Linked DNA regions of Homo sapiens: all the other regions are linked to region 1. Evidence: promoter capture Hi-C in 16 types of primary human blood cells and fetal thymus (Javierre and others, 2016). All regions are on one chromosome and are shown on one strand. The core of a region is centred on a gene start or on the middle of the fragment in contact, and the rest is flanking DNA. Distances in the headings are between cores, read along the strand shown. Region 1 holds the start of EPHB6 (EPH receptor B6). Region 2 holds the start of TAS2R39 (taste 2 receptor member 39). Region 3 has its middle 23 kb from the start of MIR11400. Region 4 has its middle 73 kb from the start of MIR11400. Region 5 holds the start of PIP (prolactin induced protein). Region 6 overlaps LOC124901764 (a long non-coding RNA gene). Region 7 has its middle 42 kb from the start of MIR11400.

Evidence for each region. Contacts are between HindIII fragments. The CHiCAGO score rates a contact against its expected background, and 5 or more counts as called.
Region 2: a contact is called between the fragment with the promoter of TAS2R39 here and the fragment with the promoter of EPHB6 in region 1, in 5 of 17 cell types (total B cells, neutrophils, M2 macrophages and 2 more). The highest score is 7.2, in total B cells.
Region 3: a fragment that was not itself captured here is called in contact with the fragment with the promoter of EPHB6 in region 1 in 1 of 17 cell types (non-activated CD4 T cells); the score reaches 5.3 in non-activated CD4 T cells.
Region 4: a contact is called between a fragment that was not itself captured here and the fragment with the promoter of EPHB6 in region 1, in 1 of 17 cell types (naive CD4 T cells). The highest score is 5.3, in naive CD4 T cells.
Region 5: the fragment with the promoter of PIP here is called in contact with the fragment with the promoter of EPHB6 in region 1 in 6 of 17 cell types (M0 macrophages, M1 macrophages, total B cells and 3 more); the score reaches 8.8 in M0 macrophages.
Region 6: a contact is called between a fragment that was not itself captured here and the fragment with the promoter of EPHB6 in region 1, in 9 of 17 cell types (M0 macrophages, neutrophils, naive B cells and 6 more). The highest score is 10.7, in M0 macrophages.
Region 7: a contact is called between a fragment that was not itself captured here and the fragment with the promoter of EPHB6 in region 1, in 8 of 17 cell types (fetal thymus, endothelial precursors, M2 macrophages and 5 more). The highest score is 10.0, in fetal thymus.

What each region holds. Positions count from the first base shown.
Region 1 is chr7:142,853,043-142,856,769 of GRCh38, forward strand. EPHB6 (EPH receptor B6) reads left to right here and starts at 2,034. Exons shown (of 20, transcript NM_004445.6): 1 at 2,034-2,343. The HindIII fragment of the contact is 5,828 bases long and covers 1-3,727 here.
Region 2 is chr7:143,181,494-143,185,206 of GRCh38, forward strand. TAS2R39 (taste 2 receptor member 39) reads left to right here and starts at 1,926. Exons shown (of 1, transcript NM_176881.2): 1 at 1,926-2,942. The coding sequence starts at 1,926. The coding sequence ends at 2,942. The HindIII fragment of the contact is 8,536 bases long and covers 1-3,713 here.
Region 3 is chr7:142,495,791-142,499,641 of GRCh38, forward strand. It overlaps TRB. Among named protein-coding and RNA genes, the nearest start is that of MIR11400, 23 kb to the left of the region's middle. The HindIII fragment of the contact is 6,150 bases long and covers 1-3,851 here.
Region 4 is chr7:142,399,558-142,403,062 of GRCh38, forward strand. It overlaps TRB and TRBV10-1. Among named protein-coding and RNA genes, the nearest start is that of MIR11400, 73 kb to the right of the region's middle. The HindIII fragment of the contact is 5,689 bases long and covers 1-3,505 here.
Region 5 is chr7:143,130,545-143,134,129 of GRCh38, forward strand. It overlaps PIP (prolactin induced protein), which reads left to right and starts at 1,533. Exons shown (of 4, transcript NM_002652.3): 1 at 1,533-1,667. The coding sequence starts at 1,573. The HindIII fragment of the contact is 4,172 bases long and covers 1-3,488 here.
Region 6 is chr7:143,200,707-143,204,446 of GRCh38, forward strand. It overlaps LOC124901764 (a long non-coding RNA gene), which reads right to left. Exons shown (of 2, transcript XR_007060567.1): 1 at 2,470-3,740; 2 at 1,350-1,721. Among named protein-coding and RNA genes, the nearest start is that of TAS2R39, 19 kb to the left of the region's middle. The HindIII fragment of the contact is 871 bases long and covers 1,433-2,303 here.
Region 7 is chr7:142,515,136-142,518,876 of GRCh38, forward strand. It overlaps TRB. Among named protein-coding and RNA genes, the nearest start is that of MIR11400, 42 kb to the left of the region's middle. The HindIII fragment of the contact is 1,200 bases long and covers 1,007-2,206 here.

The sequences.
Region 1 (3,727 bases), core at 784-3,283:
TGCAGGTTGCAGCATACTTTAACAATGCATTCTATGCTCTCCACCTACCATTAAAACTTGGTTTGATAAGACATAGGCAATTAGGATGCAAAGCCGACTAATCACAAATTTAAACCTCTTTGCATCCTGAGTATGACACTTCCTTTGAAAACTAGATGCCTCTCAAATTTTATTAACAAGACAAATATAACTAATTACACAAGCCTTGAGCAGCAAAAACTTCATTTCATATTATAGTCACCTAATATGAGGTATATCATGAAATAGAAAAGAAGGCAGATATTTTTACTGTTATGTCAATACAGGATACGTTGCAAATTACTACAGGAATTTCTGGGTTTTATAAAGTAACAACTACGGTTTGGTTTTGTCCATATTTTTATTTTAACATAATCTAGTTATGTGTCTTTTTTTTAAGTTTTCAATATAACCATAGATGTCTAGCAATCAGGCATGTTAATGTATGAGTTACGTAATTCCACACACAATGCAAATTCTGTTTCTTTGCAGAAGTCTTTGAAAGCCTTGGAGATAACCAGAAAATGAAGGAAGCCCTCCACCACTGAGTTTCAGGGCAAAGGGAAGAAACAAGATAAAGTAGAACCGTCAGTACAAGTGGAATTATTAATGACGTCCAAATGCAGTCATTAAATACTATCAGACTTATTTATTGACTCCTGATATTAAGAGTGAACAAACCCCTGGCCAAGTGGGAACTTGCTCGGTAGCCTTTATCTTTCTATCACTCATTCAGTCAATTCATTAAAGCCTGTTTGTCTCTCCCAGGTGACTCTTACTGAGTTTCATTGTTTTGTTTATTGTGTTTGTTGGCTCATAGATCTCTTTCACAATTTTCTTCGGCTTCTGAATGCTCTTTAAGTACCAGTTTTGATCAGCCCATTTGCTTTAATAAACAGGAGAGCAAGATGGGACAGGGCGATACAGGGAGAAAAGGGGGCAAAGGGAATCGCACCGGGTGCTTGTGCTCCCTAGAAAAACCAGCAGGTGGTAGCAACACTTCGTGGCAAGGCCCCAGCCCAGCTCTGTAGGACCCAAACAATAGACCCCAAATCCCCGTCCTCGGCTAGAGAAGGGGTTAGAGGTGGGCGGAAACACTTTTCCTCGCGGCGCCCCCTCGGTTCCTCAACCCTGCCTCCAGGCGCCAGCTGAGAGCACCTTGCACCGCCCCTCCTCACTGCAGGGAGGTTCTCTCCGGAGCGCGGGCGAGGGAGGAGGCACCCAGAGGTGCAGCGACTTGCCCAAGCCATGTCAGAGCCAGGCGTACAGCAGCGCTTCCCCTTTTCAACCCGACTGCCCTGCCCCTTGGGGAGGGTAGATGGAGGGAGGTTCGACTCAGAAGCCCCAACGTTGACCAAGATCCAGACACGAAAAGAGAAAAGAGTTCCCGGCTAGCACGGCGACGCTTTCATACCGAGACGCCCCCCTCTCCCGCTGCCTCGGCTCCCCCTACCACCGCCCGTACTCTCCCAGATTTCTCAGTTTGTCTTTCCCTCCACCCCCTGCTTTTCCTTCCTTCTCTCTTGCTCAGCTCACGCCCACCTTAGTTCCAAGCTGAGTAGGAGCCCCACTGTTTTAGTTCCTAGAGTTAAAGCCGAAGAGGAGGGAGGCGCGAGGGGGTGTGTGCAGGGCTCTGCCCTGCCCTGAACTGCCACGGTCCGCCAGTTGCGCTTCGCTCCGCGGGTGTCCGACCCAAGCCGAGCCCGAGCCCGAGCCCAGGCAGGGGCTTTACAGACAGCCTCTTCCCTTCCCACTTCCTGCAGGCGCCCCACGCGTGCGATCCTCCCGGCCAAGACCCGCGGGAGGAGGCCGCCCCCTTCCCGGCGCACAGGCGGGGCCCCGGGCGCGCCCCGCGTCTCCCCCGCGCGCCGGGGCGGAGGAGCGGGCGCCGCGCACTCACCGCCTAGGCCGGGAGGGCGGGCTCGGCTCCCCGGAAGAAGGGAGTGGGAAGGCGGCCAAAGGGGCTGAAGGGGCGGGCCGGGCCGGCTTGGGAGGGGACGCGGAGGGGGCGGGCCGGGCTGCGTTCGCTCCAGCCGCGGCTCTACAGCAGCGGGCGGCGGGACCCGGGACCCAGCTTGGCGACGGCGATCTCGACGCGGGCCCCCAGGATCTCCCGGCGCCCCACCTCTGGAGCAGCCCCTGCCGCCAGCGTCAGGTCCACCCCGGAATCCCAGGGACTCTCGGCGCCGAACGGACCCGGGCCGGGTGCAACGGGGTCCCCGGACTGGAGAAGACGCGGGTGGCACCGTGCGAGCTCCAGGAGCCCCGGGTCCACTGCGAGGCCTCGGGGGGCGCAGACCTGCAGAGACTGCGGCCAACGGGAAGGTGAGCCCGCGGGGTTAGCAGGCGGCGTTGTGGGGGTCGGGGACAGTATGCTTGGGGACAGAGGAATTAAGGTTTGCAAGAGTAGTGGGGCTCCTCAGCCCCTAGGTGGCTTCCTGAGGGAGTACTGAGGATCCTTCCTCAAGGCCAGAGTGGGGTTCATGAAGGGTGAGGAAACGGTCAACCTGGCTACTCCCCTCTCACTCCACTCTGACCTGGCATCATTGACACCGCATTACCCTTGCTGTTAGGATCCCCCAGTTGCGTTCCCAGACATTCTCCTCTGGCTCTGGCTTGGGAGTCCTAATCTGGGAGGGTCCTCGCAGAGACGGAGCTCCACGCTTGGAACAGGATTGCCACCCCTCTGACTCCAGTGGCATCACTCCAATCCCCTTGGAGCTGGGAGGAGTCAGGAGGCTGACCACACACCTGTCCCCTGCTCCCCACAAGGCACTGTCCCCCCCAGCTCCATGACCACAGTTAAGCCTTGGAGGTGGAAGGAACGCTTGGTTCCTGCTGCCCAGCCATCACCCCCAACGTGCAACCAAATTCTATTGCGTGCTCCTGCCCCAGCTCCACCCTCGCTCTGCTCCCTCCATCTGGGTGCTTGGCCCTGCTTGCCCCACACCCCCACCCACCGATCTTGGCCGTCTGGCACCCTCTCTCCTCCCATCCCTGGGGGAGCTGGCATGGACCCAGCATAGCAATGTTGTAATGTCCCTGGCAGCGCCCATGGAGCGGAGCTGCTGGGTCTGTTCCCAGTTAACCCAGGCCCTCCGCCCGCCAGGGGAACTTGACTGAGGCTCTAGGAGGGGAGATGCTGGTCCTGAGCTGAGAGACCAGTGGGAGGGAGCTGTGTGGGGCTGTTAGTAGACCACAGAAGCTGCCCAAGTAAGGGGCATTGGAGCATTGAGGCTTCTGAGTGCTGCTCAGTGGGGCCACTTGGCTTTTCAGAGCAGTGGGCCTTTTTTCTCAAAGGAAGATTAGCGTGGGGGTGTCTATGTACTTACCTGGTGGCCTCAGAAGGAGGACTTGTTTGGAGTCTATTACTCCATTCAGGGTGCAAAAAGATGGTTGGCAATGACACTGAGTTACCAGAATGCTGGGGAGCAACAGGCTGGGGTGGGCTGAGCATGGGAAAGGCAGGATCCTCCTTCTGGGACGGCTGTTCTGCTATCACTCTGTCCTGAGCCTGGGCCCTAGACCCTGAGTTCCCACTCTAGGTAGAAGGAGGATGGCAGGTTCTGGAGGGTTTGGGAAGCCTCAGGTTTCCCTTTCTTTACCCACTCCTCCCCGCCCCCCACTTGGCTCCCTCTCCCAGCCCAGGTGTTTCTGCAGAAGTACCTCCTGGGGCCAAGAGCAACTCACAGCCAGACTGGGGGTAGAG
Region 2 (3,713 bases), core at 676-3,175, 330 kb after region 1:
CACAGCCTCTGCAGCACCCTACACTGTGAAGCCAGACCCTGTCTGAGCTCTTTCTCATCTGGCTGCTCTGTCTCTGCTTCCCCTTCCTTTGTTCCCCTCTGTCACCCACCAGTGTTTCTTACACAGATGTTCTCTACAGTCTGCTGTGTTCTCACTGAACCTCACTGTTTATGCTCTGACACTTGATTTAGGCATAGGACCTGCAGATTTTCAAATTTGAGGAGACGTGGAACTGCCATTCCTCCTCATGTCTCTCATAAAGAGCTTCTCTGAGCTGAAGGTCTTCACTAAGGCCATATATCAACCCAGCAAGTATCTATGTACTGCCTCCTGGGTGTCTGGCATGGGCTAGGGGCTCAGAGTGGGATACATGGATAAACAAATCAAATGAGGAAAGACGCAACAGCCTCTGAAGGGACCATGTCCTGTTTCTCCTCCCACTCTTGGAAGCCTGGATCAGCAGAAGTAGGGGAAAGCCAGTGGCAAGAAAAATCCTCTTTAAAACCAAACTGGAGGTCCTGAGATACTCCAGGCCTACTTGTGCAAATGGGTAGAAACAAGCAGAGAGGAGCAGTTGTCTATTACGCTGTATTCAAGGGAAATATTTGTTCAGGAATAGTGATTTTCAAATGAGATGGTAAAATTCGTAACAACTCATCTAAAATCATTAATCAAGCCAGAAAACGTTTATGAGTTCTTGCCTTGTTTTTAAAAGGCTTTAAGTAAAAACCAAATGTTATAAAGATTTTCTGAGACTTCTCACCCACCAACTTTCTCTTTATTAGAATTATTACTTCATCATTATTTTAAAGTTACATACATTCATAAAAATTAATTTACCCTGAAATGAAAAGTCCATTTTATCATTATGTGTCCTATGCTTGCGTTTTAAAATCAGAAAAAAATTCCTTAAGATAAAAGTGATTCTTTTTTCCTTTCTTTTTGTTTTAATATTCCAAAATTGGATGAATTGGGACATTGCTTTTATTCTCAGGTTCGCTAGCTTACCTTGCTAGGAACTAGGGAGTTTTACCTTCAACTCTTATTTTCCTAGTTTTGCTTAAAATGAAAGGTGAATATGTGTGTGTGTGTGTGTGTGTGTATGATCTTTTATGTATAATTAAATTTATTACCTCTCAAGTAATCTACTTTGAAAAGAGAGTCCTATCTCTTAAAAATCAGTGTCTTCTTGCTTTATTGATTTTTCTTTAGAGGGTGGGGACATAAAAGGCTACCAGGAAAAAAATGTCATAGTGGAATCAACCCTGCATTTAGTCTTGGGCACACAAAAGAATCCACAGGTCTAGGTAGCATAACATGGTGGATAAGAGGAGGAACTCTGCGACCAGGTGACTTGGGTTTGAATCCCAGTTCTATCACGCTCTAGTTGTGTGATGTTGGCCAAGTTATTTAACCTCTGTATGCCTTAGTTTCTTCATCTGCAAAATGGAGGTAATAGAAGCACATGCTCATAAGGTTGTTGTGAGGTTTAAATGTAGTAATTATAAATAAATCATTTGAAAATTTCTTAGCACAAAATGAGAAGTGCGTGTGTGTGTGTGTATGTGTGTAGCAGTTTTTATTTTCAATCATTTTCTGCAGTCACAAGTGAAAGTAAGTTAAATGATGACTCAGTTAACCAATGTTCAAATTAACTGATGCTACCAAAGAACACGGACCTCAGTACCATGTTAGCTGCTTTTAAAGAGTCTACTCAAGCGCTTCCCTGGGCCTCATTATTGAACCACTACCAACATGTTCAAAAATAGAGAGAGGATTAGAAACCAAATCCTTCCAACATTTGCATCTCTAGATGTAGAGCTAAGAATTCTGAAATAAACAAATGCAGTGAATTTGGAAATGATACATCAATTGCTTCCTCCTATGACATCAATACTGGGAGTTATCAAGAGTCTGCCCATCAAATGCTAGGGAGATGTTTTCCTCCAGACACCAAAGAGAAGCAACAGCTCAGAATGACTAAACTCTGCGATCCTGCAGAAAGTGAATTGTCGCCATTTCTCATCACCTTAATTTTAGCAGTTTTACTTGCTGAATACCTCATTGGTATCATTGCAAATGGTTTCATCATGGCTATACATGCAGCTGAATGGGTTCAAAATAAGGCAGTTTCCACAAGTGGCAGGATCCTGGTTTTCCTGAGTGTATCCAGAATAGCTCTCCAAAGCCTCATGATGTTAGAAATTACCATCAGCTCAACCTCCCTAAGTTTTTATTCTGAAGACGCTGTATATTATGCATTCAAAATAAGTTTTATATTCTTAAATTTTTGTAGCCTGTGGTTTGCTGCCTGGCTCAGTTTCTTCTACTTTGTGAAGATTGCCAATTTCTCCTACCCCCTTTTCCTCAAACTGAGGTGGAGAATTACTGGATTGATACCCTGGCTTCTGTGGCTGTCCGTGTTTATTTCCTTCAGTCACAGCATGTTCTGCATCAACATCTGCACTGTGTATTGTAACAATTCTTTCCCTATCCACTCCTCCAACTCCACTAAGAAAACATACTTGTCTGAGATCAATGTGGTCGGTCTGGCTTTTTTCTTTAACCTGGGGATTGTGACTCCTCTGATCATGTTCATCCTGACAGCCACCCTGCTGATCCTCTCTCTCAAGAGACACACCCTACACATGGGAAGCAATGCCACAGGGTCCAACGACCCCAGCATGGAGGCTCACATGGGGGCCATCAAAGCTATCAGCTACTTTCTCATTCTCTACATTTTCAATGCAGTTGCTCTGTTTATCTACCTGTCCAACATGTTTGACATCAACAGTCTGTGGAATAATTTGTGCCAGATCATCATGGCTGCCTACCCTGCCAGCCACTCAATTCTACTGATTCAAGATAACCCTGGGCTGAGAAGAGCCTGGAAGCGGCTTCAGCTTCGACTTCATCTTTACCCAAAAGAGTGGACTCTGTGACCAGCACCCAAGAAGACCACAGGACCTGGCCTTACCAGCTCTGCCATTCCCTCACCTAGACCTCTCTTTTCTCTCTTCTTTTCTTCTCCAACCCTCATCTGACCCTTTTCGCCTGATGTGGCTTTTTATATAGGAAATTGATCATTTCTTTTTTGCTTCATGGGTACAATCTTAGTGGTACTGTCATATTCTTTACCTGAGCCCTCTACCTCCCCTTGCTCTGTTTAAAGCAGTGATTCTAAGCACTGGCTACCCATTAGAATCTCTAGGTTGATTTTTGAAAATACCAATGTTCAAACCCAATCTCAGATCTATTAAGTCAGAATTTCTAGTGTTAGAACTCACACAATTTTCTAAGATCTCCAGGTGATTCTGCTGTGCAGCAGGGTTGTATAGCCACCAAAATAGAAGAATGTTCTGAAACTAGTTCCTGACAACTCTCTTTCTCCCTCCACATGCCTTTTAAACACATTTAGATAACTTGGGAAGTTTTCTGAGCAGAAGTTTGAAATGCATTTTGTCTCCATCTTTCAAAGATATAACCAAAATAATGTGGAACTATTTATCAAAATTAATAATGCATAAAACACCTTTCATCCTAAAAATTACTAAGAATTTTTTCTAAGCATGGTTTTGTATAAATAAGCAAAAATATGTGCAAGAGGCTCTTCACAGCTGCACTGTTCATGAATGACGGGAATTGAATGTCTGAAATGAATATTATGTTAACCTTTTTTAAATGAGATAGATGCATGCTTCCTGAGATGAAAA
Region 3 (3,851 bases), core at 524-3,023, 360 kb before region 1:
GATGACCTCTCTTTCAGACCATGCTCAACAAGGAGGGAGAGGGATTTTCATCCATGGGAAGCTGAGGAGGAGCAAATCCCAGGGTCCTCTAACTCAGGGTGCGGGAACAAATCCTTGGAGAGGAAAATGGTCCAGTTCAGCTGTCACAGGAGACAGGAGAAAGCACAGTTATCTAATCCACAGTCCCCTGGCTGATTTGCTTCCTTATGATGCTATTTTGTACCAGCATGTCCTCATCTCCCGCTGCTCCTCTGCCTGTTTCAGAATCATCTCTTCCGTGTTTGGTGCTCAGATCAGTGGATGTGCATTGTACAAGCTGATCATTTCCTGTAGCAGCCCCTTTGCTAGTCTTAGCTATATCCATCCTTAGTTTCTACATTAGGTACTGCTCCCTCCACCATTGCTTATTGCCTTGTAAGAGGTTTCATTTTATATATTTCAATTTTACTTTTTATTAATAGACATTTGACTTCATCTTTTGCTGATCTATACTTTTGGGGTAACATTGTCATTTTAGGAGGATGTGTTTGTTTATCTTTAGTGATTCACATTAAATAATCTCTTTATACCTCAACGTCTGTGTTTTCTTACTATTTAAAACCAAATATTATTTTCTTTCATTCCTCTCCTTCTATTCCTCTTTCTTTAGATGGTAGTTTAAGGGAGAAAAAGTTAAACTATAACTGGAGATATTTGTTAAGAGTTTTTCAGAATGACGGTGGGATATTAAGATTTTGGTAACTGAAAGCAATAGTCAGGGTTAGAACTAGTGTTGGTATGATGATTTAGGGAAGCTGCTCATAACACCTGCGGGACGGCACTTGTGGAATATTCTGCCGGCTCACTCAGCAGACACTTCCCAGCGGAAGAAATAATGATGAAACTTCACTTATTGGCCACAAGATGGCACTATGGTCCACTGGGCTCTGGGGAGTCTGGGCGAGCAGTCTAGGAGGGAAAGGGTTAAGAAAAATTAGGGCTTGGATCCCATATTATGCAGATGTTGCAGCAGTTTTCAGTTATTGCTAGGCTACCTACAGCTATGCAAGAGGCGGGAAGTCCCTGTAATCTTTAGTGACATCTACAGTTGAAGAATTTTTGCCTTCGTATCAGGGGCGGGTGCAGAGGAGCAAATGCCTCAGAGGAACATTGGAAATTGTCTGACCAGGCAACAGCTTTAACCTGCTTGAGTGATCTGGGATTCTGCAAGTTCATAAGTCTTACTGATAACATCACCTTGGCTGAGATTCCATTGGACACCAAGTATGTGTTCTCTGGAGGGCAAAAAATATTGAGAAGTTCTAAAACACCTAAGTAAACAGACTACTGAAGGAAAATGTTAGTAGACACATCAAACTGTGCTGTTAGAGCTGAATATAATTGACTAGAAGAATTATCAAAAATAGACTATAAATAAGTCACTACTAAAGTATTTGTGGGCATAGAACAGTGTTTGAGTCTTCTCAGGGTAGATTAAGGAAGAAATTCAGCTATTATCCTCATGACCTTGGCTTGGATGAAAATGCATGGACTCCTCAATTTATTTTCTTGTAAAATGTTACAGAATAATATTGAGCAAACATTTTATTTTTCTCCAGCCTCTATCCCTCTTTAGCACTTACAGGTAGAGCAGACACCTAGACGCAAGGTTTTTTAGTTGGGATCCATTAACTGCAGGACTGGAGATCCACAGCTGGGCTTTACAGGGATTGCAAACCCCACATGCAGGGAACCCCGTGTGTCTGCGCTGTGCCCAACTCCCCTCTGTGAGGCTGCCAAAGGCGGAGGGCCGGGTGTCCCAGGACCCCACTCACAAAGAGGGGAGCAGGCTGCTTGCTGGGCAAAAAAATCACTTCACCAATTGGCCAATCTGTTGAAAGCCAAAAAGAAATGAAAGTCTCAATTGTGAGACTGATGAATGCCCAATTTCCCAAGTTATGAAACGGATAGCAGCTCATGGTTCTCAGAATGATTTCAACAGCATATGAAGATATTTTTAGAGAGCTTTTGTTTGTCTACAGCTTTCCTTGATATTGATCCTCACTTGTTTTTCAGCCCACTCATCACTTGAGCTTATTTTGTGGCCAAATTTCAATGTTGTCTATTTCAGTCACTGAGCACTTCTCACATTCTCCAAATCTTACACAGCTATGTGTGTTCCTGTCTTTTCTTCTTTTTGTGTGATTCATTTTTAAATTGGGCTGTGCAGAATACAAGCATACATTTGTAAATGACTCCCATCTTTTATGCAATTTAGCTGTTTAATTTTTAGTAATACTTTTTATTAAGGTATAATTAATAGAGAGTAAAACACAAATATTAATAGAAGGACATCCTGGTACATTTTGACAAATGCATACGCCAGTGCAATAGTAACTGAAATGATTATAAAAAAAATTTCCGTCACTCAAGAAAGTGTCATCATGCTCCTTTCTAATCAATTTCTATCCCAGGGATAAAAACTTTTCTATGTGTATCACTGTTGAGTAGCTTTGTCTATTCTTGAGCTTCATATAATGGAATCATATTTTTATTGAATTGTTTTTCTCCAAAATTAGTATTTCTGAAGTATATTCATATCGTTGTATCAGTAGGTCATTCTTATGACTAATATTCCATTGCATAAATATACTACAACTTGTTTATCCATGCTCCTGTTGATGGATATCCATGTTACTCCTGTCTTCAACTATTATGAATAAACTTGTTGTGAACATTTTTGTGGAATTCTTCCTGTGGACATATGCATTTTTTTTAAAGAAATAGACTTAAGAGTGGAAATACTGACTCATAGTGTAGATGTGTGTGCTATGCTTGCATGTCCTCACAAAATCTCATGTTGAAACTTGTCAAGGTAATGGTATTGGGAGGTGGGACAGCTATGACTAGGGTCATGAGGGATCTGCCCTCAGAAACAGATCAATGCCCTTTATTGTGGGAGTGAATTAATTATCTTGGGAATGGTCTTCTGATAAAAAGGATGAATTCAGTCATTTTCTCTGACTTCGGTGCTTGCTTCCCCTTCCTTCTGCCTTGGATAACAGCAGGAGGCCCTCAGCAGTTATTGCCCTTCTATCTTGGACTTCTCAGTCTCCAGATCTATAAGCCAAATAAAACTATTGTCTTTATAAATTGCCCATTCCATGGTATTTCTCTATAGCAGTAGGAAAGAAATTGAAAGAAAATATGGTACCTGAGAGTGAGGCTGTTGCTATAATACCTGAAAATGTAGAAGCAGCTTTGGTTAATGGGAAGTGGCTAATGGATAGAGGCTGAAAGAATTGGGAGGAGCAGACTAGCAAAAGTCTAGATTCCTGAAAACAGAGCATAAAGGGCAATTCTGGTGAAGGCTCAGGGGGAAATGAGGAACAAGGTATTGAAAATCGAAGTAAATGCCATCCTTGTTGTAAGTAGCAAAAACCTTGGCAAAATTGTGTCCTGTTCTAGAACTTTATGGAATATAAAAATTATGAGCCATTTGCTAGTATATCTGCTGAAAGAAATATCTAAGAGGCAAAGCATTCAGGCTACTGTGTGACTACTTTTAGCCACCAGGAAATTTAACCCAGCAAGAAGGGAGCCATGGGAATAGATTTTGCAAACCAGCACAGATGGTGACTCTACCTCCCTCTGCTGTCCTGTCTCCCATAAGCCAAACTCTGTGCTGTGAGCTGTTAAAGTCCAAGAATTATTTCTGGGGAATCTGTACTCTTAATAATTTACAGACAACACAGGTCTGCTTTGGATCTGATCAGACAGACTAAATCTTGGGGACTGTACCAGTGGCCACTGAGAAAAGGGGCTCGGAATGTTGTCTTGGATAGAAAAATATAATAAGAAACATTGGTGTG
Region 4 (3,505 bases), core at 563-3,062, 450 kb before region 1:
AAGTCATAAAAGTCACCAGGACTGCTATGACAATGTTCTTTAGCCTACAGAAATATTCATAAAAGTGAAAATAGTATTCAAATAAAGAATTTCTCATGATGGAAATAAAATATACATAGAAGAACAAATTCCCCTATTAAAATCAGGGAAAGAGCTTAGGAGTTTATTAGATTTCTTTCAAAACAGACCTAAAAATTATTCAACTCTGTTATAAATAATTTGTTCCTGCGGGGAAGAGAAGGGGCATGGCAGGTTAGCTCCGCAGTTCAAGCATTCAGCAGGAACAGTGACATCATCAAGTCACTGAGAGCCCAACTTCAGTCTGCCCACAGCAGGGCTGGGAGACACAAGATCCTGCCCTGGAGCTGAAATGGGCACGAGGCTCTTCTTCTATGTGGCCCTTTGTCTGCTGTGGGCAGGTGAGGGCTGGTCACAGGAGGGCCTCCTTCCCTGGAATTCCCAAGGCCTCAGTGCAGGCTTTTCTGTTGGGATGACAGCATCAGCATCTGTTGTTCTCTATTACAGGACACAGGGATGCTGAAATCACCCAGAGCCCAAGACACAAGATCACAGAGACAGGAAGGCAGGTGACCTTGGCGTGTCACCAGACTTGGAACCACAACAATATGTTCTGGTATCGACAAGACCTGGGACATGGGCTGAGGCTGATCCATTACTCATATGGTGTTCACGACACTAACAAAGGAGAAGTCTCAGATGGCTACAGTGTCTCTAGATCAAACACAGAGGACCTCCCCCTCACTCTGGAGTCTGCTGCCTCCTCCCAGACATCTGTATATTTCTGCGCCAGCAGTGAGTCCACAGTGCTGCACAGCTGCCTCCTCTCTGCACATAAAGGGCAGTTAGAATGACTGAGGTTGCCTGTGCTCCCAAGTCCCAGCCTTCACAGGAGTCGGAGAGCCCTGGCTAGCCTGGGGGCCATAGAGCAGGGGCCATATAAACCTTGATGTTGAGGTCCATTCCTACCCCAGTCTCAGACCAACTGGAGGTCACCCCAACACCCTTAGCTTCTGCAGTTCCCTCTTTCCTTTTGTAAAATGGAAAAGGCATCTTTAGTCGAGATTCCTAATTTCGTTGAAAATTTGAAACCCACCATATTCTTCTCTACCCTAAGGGCTGGGTGACTTTTCCACATACCCTTTCCCCTACCCTCTACTGCCTTTCAACTCCCAATCATAAATCTTTGCCCATGTGGTCTCTGCTCCTGGGGGCCCTTTATTCTAAGGGCAATAGACCCACGAGGTCCTATATCATTAGCCATTTACGTACCTCTTCATCATCATTTTGCACCATGTTTTCCCTGGCTCTCTGCTCCAGCCACACTCCCTTACATGCAGTTATTTCTTCATATGTGTCTGTTGTTTTCCACCCTGGGGATTGTTTATATAAATTCTTTCTTCTGCACTGAGCATACATACCACCCACTTAGTCCTACATCTCTACTTCATTTCTTAAATTAAAGTGTATTTCAGGCACACTTGCTCTTAATTGTAAAAAGCAAAAAAGAAAGTTTACTAGAAAAATTTAAGAAAAGCATTTTATGCATTCAGTTGAGGGATGACATTTTTAGAGGAGACAAAAAGCCACAAGCCAAAAGAACAACATTCATAACGCTAGTTGCATTAAATTGTTTCAAGCCAAAACACACCATAAAAAATAAAGTTAAGCTACAGCCTGGGAAAGGCATGAGGAATGCATACAAATGATGAAAAATCAGTGTGACAGAGAACATTCAGTGTAACAGAGAACATTCAGAACATCACTGAATACCTGTAGCTCCTCCATGGTTTCTGGTCTCCCTTGCAGTTGGAGGGGTGGGAACATGTCACCAGGTTCTGAATAGTGGGATAAAATGATGTCAGCTCATTTCAAGCCTGGCCCTTAAAAATATTCTGTGGCACCATGTTGAGGGTCTCTAAATGTACTCCCATGTTTAGAGTGTTGGTATATGGCATAGAGTTGTACTCATGGCTAAGATTTATTAAAGTGTCATAGTAAATACTCTGCAGCAGAACATGTGGAGAAAACACACAGGCAGAATCTGGAGGAATTCACAGGCAGGCTTCCTTATGCTCTCTTCCTCTCAGGAGGGGTCACACAGAGCTCTCTCTCCTCCCAGCAGCAAAAATGCATTAACACACGTGCAGTGTATCTGCCAAGGGAGCCCATTACAGACTTAGCACCCAAGAGGTTTTAGTAGAAGCTGGTCACACAGGCACCTACTTTTTAGCATGAACCAAAAGTCTAGATCCCAAAAGAAAATCTGATGTTCAGCATAATATTATTTGCAACACCAGCCTAGGAACGATGAGCCACCCCTGTCAGTCAGGAGAAACTTTGCATCAGTTCAGGGCACCGTTCACCAGCCAAGCTCCCAGATGTCTGCCAGAGTCCAATCTTGCAAGCAGGACTTTCTAAGCACCGCAGTCTCCAGCCTCCTGTCAACTCTTGTGCACAGACACTCTTCAACTCTCTTTTGCCATGTCCTGAACTCGGGAGCTACACGGTACAGATTGCCTAATGATAATATGGAAGCAGCCTGGCTCACTGAGTCAGAATTTGGTGGACAATCACAGAAGAAAGCTGCTCATGCCACACTGGGCTTTGTGGTCATGGGAAGTAAGACTTCATAGAGCTATGCCAGTGAGATTTTAGGATTTGTTTTGTTTGTTTTGTTTTCTGTAGCACAGCTGTTCTTGTCTAAGAGAATTAGTATCTAGAATGAGTAAAATATTCTTATTACTTAGTATTAAGAAGACAGCTCAATAAAAATAGCAATACTGAGGCTGAGTAGGCAATTCACACAAGAGTGAACATAAGTTACCACTAAACATGAGAATAACTTCGCAACCTTACTTACAATCAGAATATTGCAACCTGAAACAGTAAGTTATGATTTCAAAATTACTAGATTGGATACTTTTCCAAGGAATGACAGTCCTACATTTGAGTAGACATATGGGCTGGTGAAAATTGTTTGTATATTTATTACAAAAGATAATTACAACTACATCAGAAAACCCACTGTGGGATATATTGTGACAAACCACATTTCTGGAAAATTTATCAATGTATTTAAATCACTTGGGTTCCTTTCATTGTCTTTAAGTTCAATAATGGAGAATGCAACTGTCAGTGTTTTTCCTATTTTGAAGGTAGTCTTTCCATCTTTTAAAAAGTATGATAAAATGCACGTAACATATAATTTCATCACTTTATTTTTTAAATGTACAATTCAATGACATTAAGTACATTCACCTTGTTGTGGAATTATCAGCATTATCCATTTCCAAAATTATTTTCATCACCCCAAACAGAAACCCTGTACCCATTAAGAAATAACTTCACATTCTCCCTCCTCTGGCAAACTCTAATCTATTTTGTATATGAACGAATTTGCCTATTTTAGATAATGAATTTACATGAAACCAGGCACTATTTTTCCTTTTGTTTCTGGCTTCTTTCACTTAGCATAACGCTTTCC
Region 5 (3,585 bases), core at 283-2,782, 280 kb after region 1:
GCCTTCAAAGAGCCAAGCAAAGAACTTTTCCTGCATTTTCCCACACAGACACTTCCTAGATTCTTCTGCCTTATGCCTGCCTTGGTCAGTGTAGCTAGGATGTGCTTCAAATGGAAATTATGCAAGTGAGAAGGACCAGGTGTAAAGACAATTTAATTGTGGGAAAAGGCTTACAAAGGAAGGTCATTGTGACCCTCACAAGCAGTGTTCTTGAGTGGATAGGACATAAACAGGGAAGAAAGCATGTGATCATGAGAACAGCTGAAGTTCTGAGTGAGCAATGACATGAATGGTGTCCAATTCAAAGAAAAGAGAAGGTAGATCCAGGAGCTGAATAAACAGACAGAGCAATTTTGAGAGATACATCCAGAAAGCAGAAGCACACACTTACACTTTAGCTCTGAATCCTGGCTAAAGCAACATACAGAGGCGGTAACTCCTAGAACTCTGATTTTCACTCTGTTGCCAGAGAGGCTCTTCCTGGGCAGCTGTGTGCCATGCAAATGATAGAAACAAATCCCATAGTATTGTAAGTCATAGGTTAAGGAGCAGATTTAATTTCATAAGGAGAAATAACACAATGCCAGTGTCAGCAAGAGCAAGTCTCCCCATCATCCCAAGGAGAGGAATTCTACAACCTGGGTATCTACTGGACATAATGTGGGCTCCATTCTCACAGAAGGAATCCTTTCCACTGTGGTTCTTCCTGTGTGGCTTACGCATGAGACAAGTGTAAGAAAGTGGCCATGTCAATAAGAAAATAAGCCAGCTCTTTGGTGCCAAGAAGTCTGATTTGGGGGTGCCAGCTATTTATAGGAATTGTCTAGAATTAAAATATCACCCTGCCTTGGGGATTGTGGGGCAGCTGGGGATCTTGGACATCTGCAGTATATTGCAACCACACCTGAAATTAAGAAGGACTCAATGACAATAAACATCTTTACATCACCCAGTGTCTTGAACTCACTTCCCCATCATGTAGAGCAGCTCAGGTCTTCTCTAGCTCTTCCACCTCATGATGGGTAGTGACTGCTAGGGAAGTCCTGATCATCCTAGCCCTCCAAGAAATGTTTTGAATAGCATTGCATCTTGAACTCACTATAATTTGATCAAGCAAAGATGTTCTATGTCTCTGGTCTGAAACCTGCCACCACAGCTGTGTTCTCTGCTTTCAGAGACCAGGGGAGCAGTGACTGAAGCTAAGACTACACATAGCACTTCAGACAGGCAAATTAGGAGGGAAAAGAAAACTGAATCTGTAAACTCGGGAAAAACTGGTGTATCTTTTGAGGTCCCAGCCATTTTGAGAAACTCTGATGCTGAAAAAATAAGGAAGAACAATCTGACTCCTCTCTCAAACGCTGACATTCTAGCTGAGTGTTGATTTTTTCTTAGAAAAACAAACTTTGGGTCAACAAGGAAAGATCACGAGTGGGGAGGGTGAATGGGTGATTCACCTCATGGATCTCCCTGGCAGCTCTTGCACTTCCTTGATCAATCTGTATATAAGAAATGTGCTGGGCACCTGGGACACCACTTCTCTGGGACACATTGCCTTCTGTTTTCTCCAGCATGCGCTTGCTCCAGCTCCTGTTCAGGGCCAGCCCTGCCACCCTGCTCCTGGTTCTCTGCCTGCAGTTGGGGGCCAACAAAGCTCAGGACAACACGTGAGCCATGCCCTTCTCCTCCCCACAAAAAAAATTGCAGGGAGGGCTCCTCTCCCAGTCTGGAAATTACATATCTCTTTCTGAGAATTTCTTTCAACTTCCCAGAACTCTAGTCCCAGGAGCTCCCATGGATCTCCTGCCAGGTTCCACTTCTTGTCCTCTTAGGAAGCCCCACCAACTCCTCTCACATTTTTGCTGGGTGTTTCTGCATTGCCAGTGGAAATAAAGCTCCAAATGTACCTACAGGCTGTAATTAGTAGTTAGTCTTCATCTAACATGCTGATCCACATCTTGTTCATAATTTATACCTTTGTTCAGATTTCTGCTCAGTAAACTTTACCTTCTCACACCTTGCCTCCTAGAAGAGAAGCATAACAGGTCTGTGAATTCCAATGGCAGCTTAGGGCAGCTTTGGCAGGACTGGCTAAAGGACCAGAGGCCCTGGCCACTGCCCTGTGGTCTGAGATTGAGCTAGACTGGCAGCTTAGACATTCTTCCTAACCTGAAGTCTGAAGATGAATATGATGACCTCTTGCTCTCACGTATACTGGGACCTGAGAGCACAGGTTCAGAAGTCAACTTATTGAGAACACATGTGTGAAGGAAGCAGAAAAATTGGAGCAAGTAAAATAAAGTAGAAAATGGAGCCAAGGGTCTGGGAGAAAGCAGCGATACCCAATCTAGGGAGTTTTCTCTATAGCAGTAGGGTTTATAATGCTGGGTTTCTGGGTTGTGATCTTGGAGGTACTCTCTATGGCATGGTCAGATATCCTGTCCTGGAGGAAACTGTTCAGGGTTTTGACAAGCTAATGTAATGGAGGCAAGTGTCCCAAGAAACCCTGCATGGGGACAGGTTCAGATCCCACCCCATTCCCGCCAGATGACAGTCCACTTAGCCCTGAAGGGCAGCAAGGTATTCAAATAAGCTATGCTAATTAGGTTATCAACCATCCATCCTGATTTGCCCAGAACTTTCCTGGTTGTAGCACTGCAACTCTGCCCTCCCCCGCCACCTCCACAACCCATTCTGGAAAAGACCTCAGTCCTGGGTAAACTGAGATGGTTAGTCACTCGAACTAAGCTGGTCATCCTATCAATCTGAAACTCATATACAAATGGGAGAGATTTTGAAGTTGCTTAGGTATTTATACCCTTTTCCTGTGCACTGGGCACTACAGCAGTTGGCACCAAAAAATAGAATCTCTCTAAGATGCTTTGCCCCAAGAAAATGGGGCTGTGAGACACTGTGGGCTAAGAATCTCAATTCCCTTCTGTCCCACACAATAACAAAGGTCCGTAGCCGGGAGTTTCTAGGGACGAGAAAATAACTCTCCTGGCCCCGAACCCAGTCCTCATTGACTGAAGAAGAACATTTGACCATTTTATTTGTCTCCATTTCCTTTCCTTTTCAGATTGCAGTGTATGGTCTAAATGTAGAGTAGTATCTAAAGTTCCCAAACATGGCCATATGTCCAAATTTCCTAAGGAGCTAAATAAATACAAATTCCTAAACCCTACCTGGGGACCACAGAAGGAGGATCTTCAAAGATGCTCCTACAAATACCTCCAGTGCATTGAGATGTTTGCTGGGTTTTTAAAATTTTTTATTATTTTATTTTATTTTTCCATAAGTTACTGGGGTACAAGTGGTATTTGGTTACATGAGTAAGTTCTTTAGTGGTGATGAGATTTTGGTGCACCCATCACCCGAGCAGTATACACTGCACCATATTTGTAGTCTTTTAGCCCTCACCCCTCTCCCACTCTTCCCCGCAAGTCCCCAAAGTCCATTGTATCATTCTTATGCTTTTGAGTCCTCAAAGCTTAGCTCCCACATATCAGTGAGAACATACGATGTTTGGTTTTCCATTACTGAGTTACTTCACTTAGAATAATAGTCTCCAATCTCATACAGGTC
Region 6 (3,740 bases), core at 618-3,117, 350 kb after region 1:
ACAATTATTCATATTTATGAGGTATAATGTGATATTTTAATACATGTATAAATTGTGTAATCATCAAATCAGGATATTTAATATATCTATCTCCTCATATAATTATCATTTCTTTACAGTGAGAACATTCAAAATTTTCCTATTTTGATGTTTGTTTTGTTTGTTTGTCTGTTTGTTGGTTTGTCTATTGCACAGGCTGTAGTGCAATGGTGAAATCTTGGCTCACTGCAACCTCTGCCTCCCGGGTTCAAGTAATTCTCTTGCCTCAGCCTCCCAGGTAGCTGGGATTACAGGCATGCATCACCACGCCTGGCTAACTTTTGTATTTTTTTAGTAGAGATGGGGTTTCACCACGTTGGTCAGACTGGTCTTGAACTGACCTCAGGTGATCCACCCTCCTTGGCCTCCCAAAGTGCTGGGATTACAGGCTTGAGCCACTGTGCCCCACCTTTCTAACTATTTTGAAATACACAACATTGTTAACTAACATAGTCACCCTACTGTGCAATAGAACACCAGAACTAATTCCTCCTATCTAACTGTAACTTTGTAGTCATTGACAAATCTCTCCCCATTTGCCCCCTAATCTCACTATCTTCCCCAGCCTCTGATAACCACTATCCTACTCTCTACTTCTATGAGATCAACTTTTTAAGATTCCACATATTGGTAAGATCATGCAGTATTTGTCTTTTTGTGCCTGGATTATTTCACTTAAAATAATGTTCTCTAGGTTTACCCATGTTGCCACAAATGATAGTACTACAATTTTTTTTTTTTTTGAGATAGAGTCTCACACTGTTGCCCAGGCTGGAGTGCAGTGGCACAATCTCGGCTCACTGTAACCTCTACCTCCTGGGTTCAAGCAATTCTCCTACCTCAGCCTCCCAAGTAGCTGGGATCACAGGCATGCACCACTACGCCGGGCTAATTTTTGTATTTTTAGTAGAGACAGGGTTTCACCATGTTGGCCAGGCTGGTCTCGAACTCCTGACCTCAGGCAATCTGCCCGCCTTGGCCGCCCAAAGTGCTGGGATTACAGGTGTGAGCCACTGTGCAGGCCGTATTCCAGTTATTTTTTATGTCTAAATAGTATTCCACTGTGTATATATAAAACACATTTTCTTTCTCTATTCACCCATTGGTGAACACATAGGTTGATCCCATATCTTGACTCTTGTAAACAGTGCTGCAATAAACATTGAGAGTTCAGATACCTCTCAGTGATTTCCTTTGGACATATACTCAGTAGTGGGGTTGCTGGATCATATGGCTAGTTCTATTTTTAACTGTTGAGGAATTTCCATACTGTTTTCCATAATGACTTACTAATTTACATTTTCACCTTCTCATTTCTTAATTGTTTATTTTTAATAGCATCCTTCTCTTATTTTATGGAGGCAATATCTTCTGTGCCTCCTCTAAGGACACAAGCTTAAATTTTTTGTCTTCTTTGATCTTTATTTCTTCAGGGGTAATTCACTCTTGGTGTTTAGCTTGGTCTTTCTCTTTCAGGCTGTGGATTTTGTTCCTATTTCTGATCATCCTTGATTAGTAATTCATGAAGGAAAAGGAAAGGCTGTTTTGGGTAAGCAGGTATCATTCTCCAGTAGAACGGTCTCCTGAATGGAAAGGCTGATTGGAAGCTCTCTTTTGTAACTGGGCCACCTTGACAGGCTGGCTCCTCTTTTAGGTATGTGGGTGTGGAATCTGACATTAGCCTGGAAATTCAAAATGCCATAATAAAAAAAGGGTTTAATCTATGTGCAAATATCTGCACTTGAAGCCCTAGTTCTTCCTTGGAAATGTATTCAATTTTTCTAGAAAAGAATTCTCAATATGAAGGTTTTCGATGGTTCTGTATGCAGTGGCAAGGAAGGCACTGGAAAGCATCAATGATGCAGCTATATGGCAGACAGAATTTTAATGATGCCTCTGGTTTTTGCACAATGTCTCGCTCCTGCTATCCAAAGCTAGGAATCCGATAGCCAAGGCCCTCCAGGCTTCTAGCAGCCTGATCAGCCACCACATTCCCAGAGGCCCATGACATGCATATTCTGAGCATCCTTTACTCCACTTCATCTACAATATGCTTTTTCTGATTGTCCACAACCAAGAAATAGGATGAAATCTCCAGTCTGCTCTTGGCCATCCTCATTCCCTTCTCTTTAGTGTTATGATATTTTTTTCTCTATGGAGTCTCAGAAGAAAGGGAAGTAGTGAACACATTATTTAAAAAATCAAATCAAAACCTTATACATACTTTTTTTTTATCATACAAGAACCTCTGGGTCTATTTCAGAAGCTTAATATTTGGTGCCCAAAATATTTTATCCTGGACAATCTTATATTGCACAAATCTTAATTCAGAGTCATAAAAGTCCCCCAAACTGGCTTTTTAAGCTGGTGCATAAACCCCATTGATGATAGTCTTATCCTATTTTTGTTTATGCTCATGTGCTTTCTCACCTGTTAAGAAACTTGCTAATTCTATTATGCGACTCTCTGGCAAAGCTTATCAAAGCTTCAAATTAATTAAGCAGTGGCAGCTCCCAATTTCCTTTTCTTACTGGCAAAAATTTGTTTCACAGAAAATGTTTAGAAAGCTTAAGTTGGTAACAGCTGATTGTTGACCTGGAAATAAGAGGTCTTCATCAATATGTTAAGCGGTCAGGATACTTAAAGAAAAACATCTATGGAGACTTCTTAGCATGCACTCTAGGCAAATACTTGCTGTCCTTCACCATTATTTCAGGATTTTTTTTTCCTAAAAGCATAAGAACAAACACATAAATGATAAAAGCAGAATTTAGGCCAACTCTAGCTTGCCTGCCAAGTAGGTAAGATGCGGTGGCAGAATACTGGCTACACTTGTGCCTGTATCACCATGGAGACCCTACTCTGACCATCAAATAATGGGATTCTAATGAGGAATGCTGCTGAACAACAAGCATGGCTGAGCACAAAGACAGAGCTGCTGGCATTGGAACATGGGAGTGAGCAAGAAAGGGGCAGCCCAAGGGAGAAGAAAAGGTGACACTGAACGTAGGTGTCGTGATGAGAAGAAAATAGGTTGCAGGTGGTGACTGCCTGGAGACCAGCCCAAATCACCTTCCACCTTTACGTGGAATCCAGGCTCAAAGCAGGAGGGACAAACTTGAGTGGGATAAATGTGACATGAAATGAGTCAGTTTGCCCAGAATATGTTTTTACCTATGAGGTGGATTGCATGGGATGGGGGAGGGGGGCTTGTAGGCAGGAGGGGCTGGGTCATGGAAATTAAATGAATTACTTTCCTAATGTGCATTGTTGTTTTTTTTTTTTTTTACACAATTGGTTCACAAAATAAAAAATTAATCCTTACTTTATGTATGAGCTCATCTGGGATTTTGAAATAGCCTCCTGATGCACATCTGTACTTAGACCAATTCTAAATCCTGGACTAGAATTTTGAGTAAAATCATCTCCAGGCAAGAGCCAGGACCAGTGAGAGCTGAGAGGCTCAAGAAGTGATGAGAATAGATTAGATGAACCCTCACTGCTGATATCAGAATTAGAAATGAATTATAACAAGGCTGAGTTTCAAAGAGAAATGCCCAGGATGGGGTCAGGATGCACCTTTCTCTCTCTCCATACAAGCTCTCCCTGAGGGGTCTCCTCTATTCTAAGTGCTCAGGTCCCCTCACAAGCCAATGGCTTCCAAACTTGTGTTTATCTCATCTCTTGCTCTTGATCTCCAG
Region 7 (3,741 bases), core at 357-2,856, 340 kb before region 1:
GAAAAGGCACAGTTAGGGGGCATGTGAGCATGCCATGAGAGAGGTCAATGCCAATTGAGAAGTCTGTGCCAATCCCCAGTACTGTGGGATTGAAGGGGAGGGAGAGATGACCTCTCCTTCAGACCATGGTCAACAAGGAAGGAGAGGGAGTTCATCCATGGGAACCTGAAAAGCAGCAAATCCCAGGGGCATCTAACTTCAGGTGCAGGAGCAAATCCTTGGAGAGGAAAATGGTCCAGTTCAGCTGTCACGGGAGACAGGAGAAAGCAAAGTCATCTAATCCACAGTCCCCTGGCTGATTTGCTTCCTTATGATACTATTTTGCATCAGCGTGTCCTCATCTCCCGCTGCTCCTCTGCCTCTTCCAGTGTCATCTCTTCCCTGTTTGCTGCTCAGATCAGTGGATGTGCATTGTACAAGGTGATCATTTCCTATAGCAGTCCCTTTGCTACTCTTAGTTATATCCATCCTTATTTTCTGCATTAGGTACTGCTCCCTCCACCATTGCTTATTGTCTTGTAACAGGTCTCGTTTTATATATTTCAATTTTACTTTTTATTAATAGACATTTGACTTCATCTTTTGCTGATCTATACTTTTGGGGTAACATTGTCATTTTTGGAGGATGTTTTTGTTTATCTTTAGTGATTCAGATTAAATAATCTCTTTATACTTCAACGTCTGTGTCTTCTTACTATTTAAAACCAAATATTATTTCCTTTCATTCCTCTCATTCTGTTCCTCTTTCTTTAGATGGTAGTTTTAAGGGAGAAAAAGTTTGGCTATAACTGAAGCTATGTGATAAGAGTTATTCAGAATGAGGGTGGGATATCAAGATTGGTAACTCAAAGCAATAATTAGGGTTAGAACTAATGTAGGACTTAGGGTTTAGGGAAGCTGCTCATAAAACCTGCGGGATGGCACCTCTGGAATATTCTGGCAGCTCACTCTGCAGACACTTCCCAGCATTCCTTGGGCCATTACAGAATTAAACAATGATGAAGCTTCACTTATTGGCCACAAGATGGCAGTGTGGTCCACTGCGATGTAAAGGGCTCTGGGCAGTCTGGGGGAGCAGCCTAGGAGGGAAAAGGTTAAGAAAAATTAGGGTTTGTATTCAATATTATGCAGATGTTGCAGGAGTTTTCAGTTATTGCTAGGCTACCTACAGCTATGCAAGAGGCAGGAAGTCCCTCTAATCTTTAATCAGATCTACAGTTGAAGAATTTTGGCCAGGCAGCCTTGGTGTCGGGGCATGTGCAGACAGAGGAGCAACTGCCTCAGAGGAAAAGGGAAAAGTGAGAGGCAGGCTGTGCCCTGAGCCCAGTGGGTCTCTGCTGCACCTCATCTTCCCTGCAGGTCTGGCCAGGCAACAGCTTTAACCTGCTTGAGTGATCTGGGATTCTCCAAGTTCATAAGTCTTACTGATAACATCAACTTGGCTGAGGTTCCATTGGAAATCAAGCACATGTTCTCTGGAGGACAAAAAGTATTGACAAAAATTTCTGAAACACCTCAGTAAACAAACTATTGAAGGAAAATATTAGTAGATGCACCAAACTGTGCCGTTAGAGATGAAGATAATAGACTAGTAGAATTTTACAAAGGAGACTATAAATAAGTCTCTACTAAGTATTTGTGGGCATCAAGCAGTGTCTGAGTCCTCTCAGGGTAGATTAAGGAAGGAATTCAGCTATTATCATGACTTTGGCTTGGATGAAAATCCATGAAGTCCTCAATTGATTTTCTTGTAAAATATTACAGAATAATATTGAGCAAACATTTTATTTTTCTCCAGCCTGTATCCCTCTTTAGCACTAACAGGTAAAGCAGACACCTAGAGGCACGGTTTCTTTAGTTGGGATCCATTAACTGTAGGACTGGGAGGTCCATAGCTGGGCTTCACAGGGAGTTCAAACCCCACGTGCAGGGAACTCCGTGTGTCTGTGCTGTGCCCAACTCCCGTCTGTGAGGCTGAAAAGGGGGAGTGCCGGGTCTCCCAGTACCCCACTCACAAAGTGGGGAGCAGGCTGCTTGCTGGGCAAAAAAATCAATTCAAAAATTGGCCAATCTGTTCAAAGCCAAAATGAAAGGAAAGTCTGAATTGTGAGACTGATGAATGCCCAATTTCCCAAGTTATGAAATTTGTAGCAGCTCATGGTTCTCAGAATGATTTCAATAGCATATGAAGATATTGTAAAAAGCTTTTGTTTGTCTACAGCTTTCCTTGATTTTGATCCTAGTTGTTTTTCGGCCCACTCATCAGTTGAGCTTATTTTGATGCCAAATTTCAATGTTGCCACTTCAGTCACCAAGCACTTCTCACATTCTCCATAACTTACACAGATATGTGTGTTCCTGTCTTTTCTTATTTTTGTGTGATTCATTTTTAAATTGGGCTGTGCAGAATACAAGCATACATTTGTAAGTGAATCCCATATTTTATGATTTAGCTGTTTACTTTTTAGTAATACTTTTTATTAAAGTATAATAGAGAGTAAAACAGAAATATTAATACAAGGACATCCTGGTACATTTTGACAAATGCATATGCCAGTGCAATAGTAACTGAAATGATTATAAAAAAAATTCTGTCATGCAGGAAAGTGTCGTCATGCTCCTTTCCAATCAATTTCTATCCCAGAGATAAAAATTGTATTTATTTATTTATTTAGAGACAAGAGTCTCACTCTGTCACCCAGGCTGGAGTGCAGTGGTGTGATCTCAGCTCACTGCAAGCTCTGCCTCCCCGGTTCACGCCACTCTCCTGCCTCAGCCTTTGGAGTAGATGGGACTATAGATGCTTGCCACCACACCCGGCTAATTGTTTGTATTTTTAGCAGAGACGGGGTTTCATCGTGTTAGTCAGGATGGTCTCGATCTCCTGACCTTGAAATCTGCCCGCCTCAGCCTCCCAAATTTTTGGGATTACAGGCATGAGCCACCGCGCCTGGCCAAAACTTTTCTTATTTTTATCACCACTGACTAGCTTGGTCTATTCTTGAACTCCATATAAATGGAATCATATAACATTTTATTGAGTTATTTTCCTCCAAAATTAGTATTTCTGAAGTTTATTCATATTGTTGTATCAGTAGGTCATTTTTTCTTATGACTAATATTCCATTGCATAACTATACCACAACTTGTTTATCCATGCTCCCGTTGATGGATATCCACATTACTCCTGTCTTCAACTATTATGAATACAGTTGTTGTGAACATTCTTGTGGAACTCTTTCTTGTGGACATATACATTCTTTTTTTTTATTTTATTTTAGGTATAAACTTAAGAGTGGAAATACTGACTTACAGTGTAGATGTGTGTGCTATGCTTGCGTGTCCTCACAAAAGCTCATGTTGAAATTTGTCATTGTAATGGTATTGGGAGGTGGGACAGCTATGACTAGGTCATGAGGGATCTGCCCTCAGAAAGAGATCAATGCCGTTATTGTGGGAGTGAATTAGTTGTCTTGGGAATGGTCTTCTGATAAAAAGTATAAATTCAGCCACTTTCTCTGTCTTGGGTGCTTGCTTCCCCTTCCTTCTGCCTTGGATAACAGCAGGAGGCCCTCAGCCGCTATGGCCCATTGATCTTGGACTTCCCAGTCTCCAGATCTATAAGCCAAATAAATGCCTTGTCTTTATAAATTACCCAGTCTGTGGTATTTCTCTATAGCAGTAGGAAATAAATGGAAAGAAAACATGGTGCTGAGAGTGACGCTGTTGCTGTAACAAGTA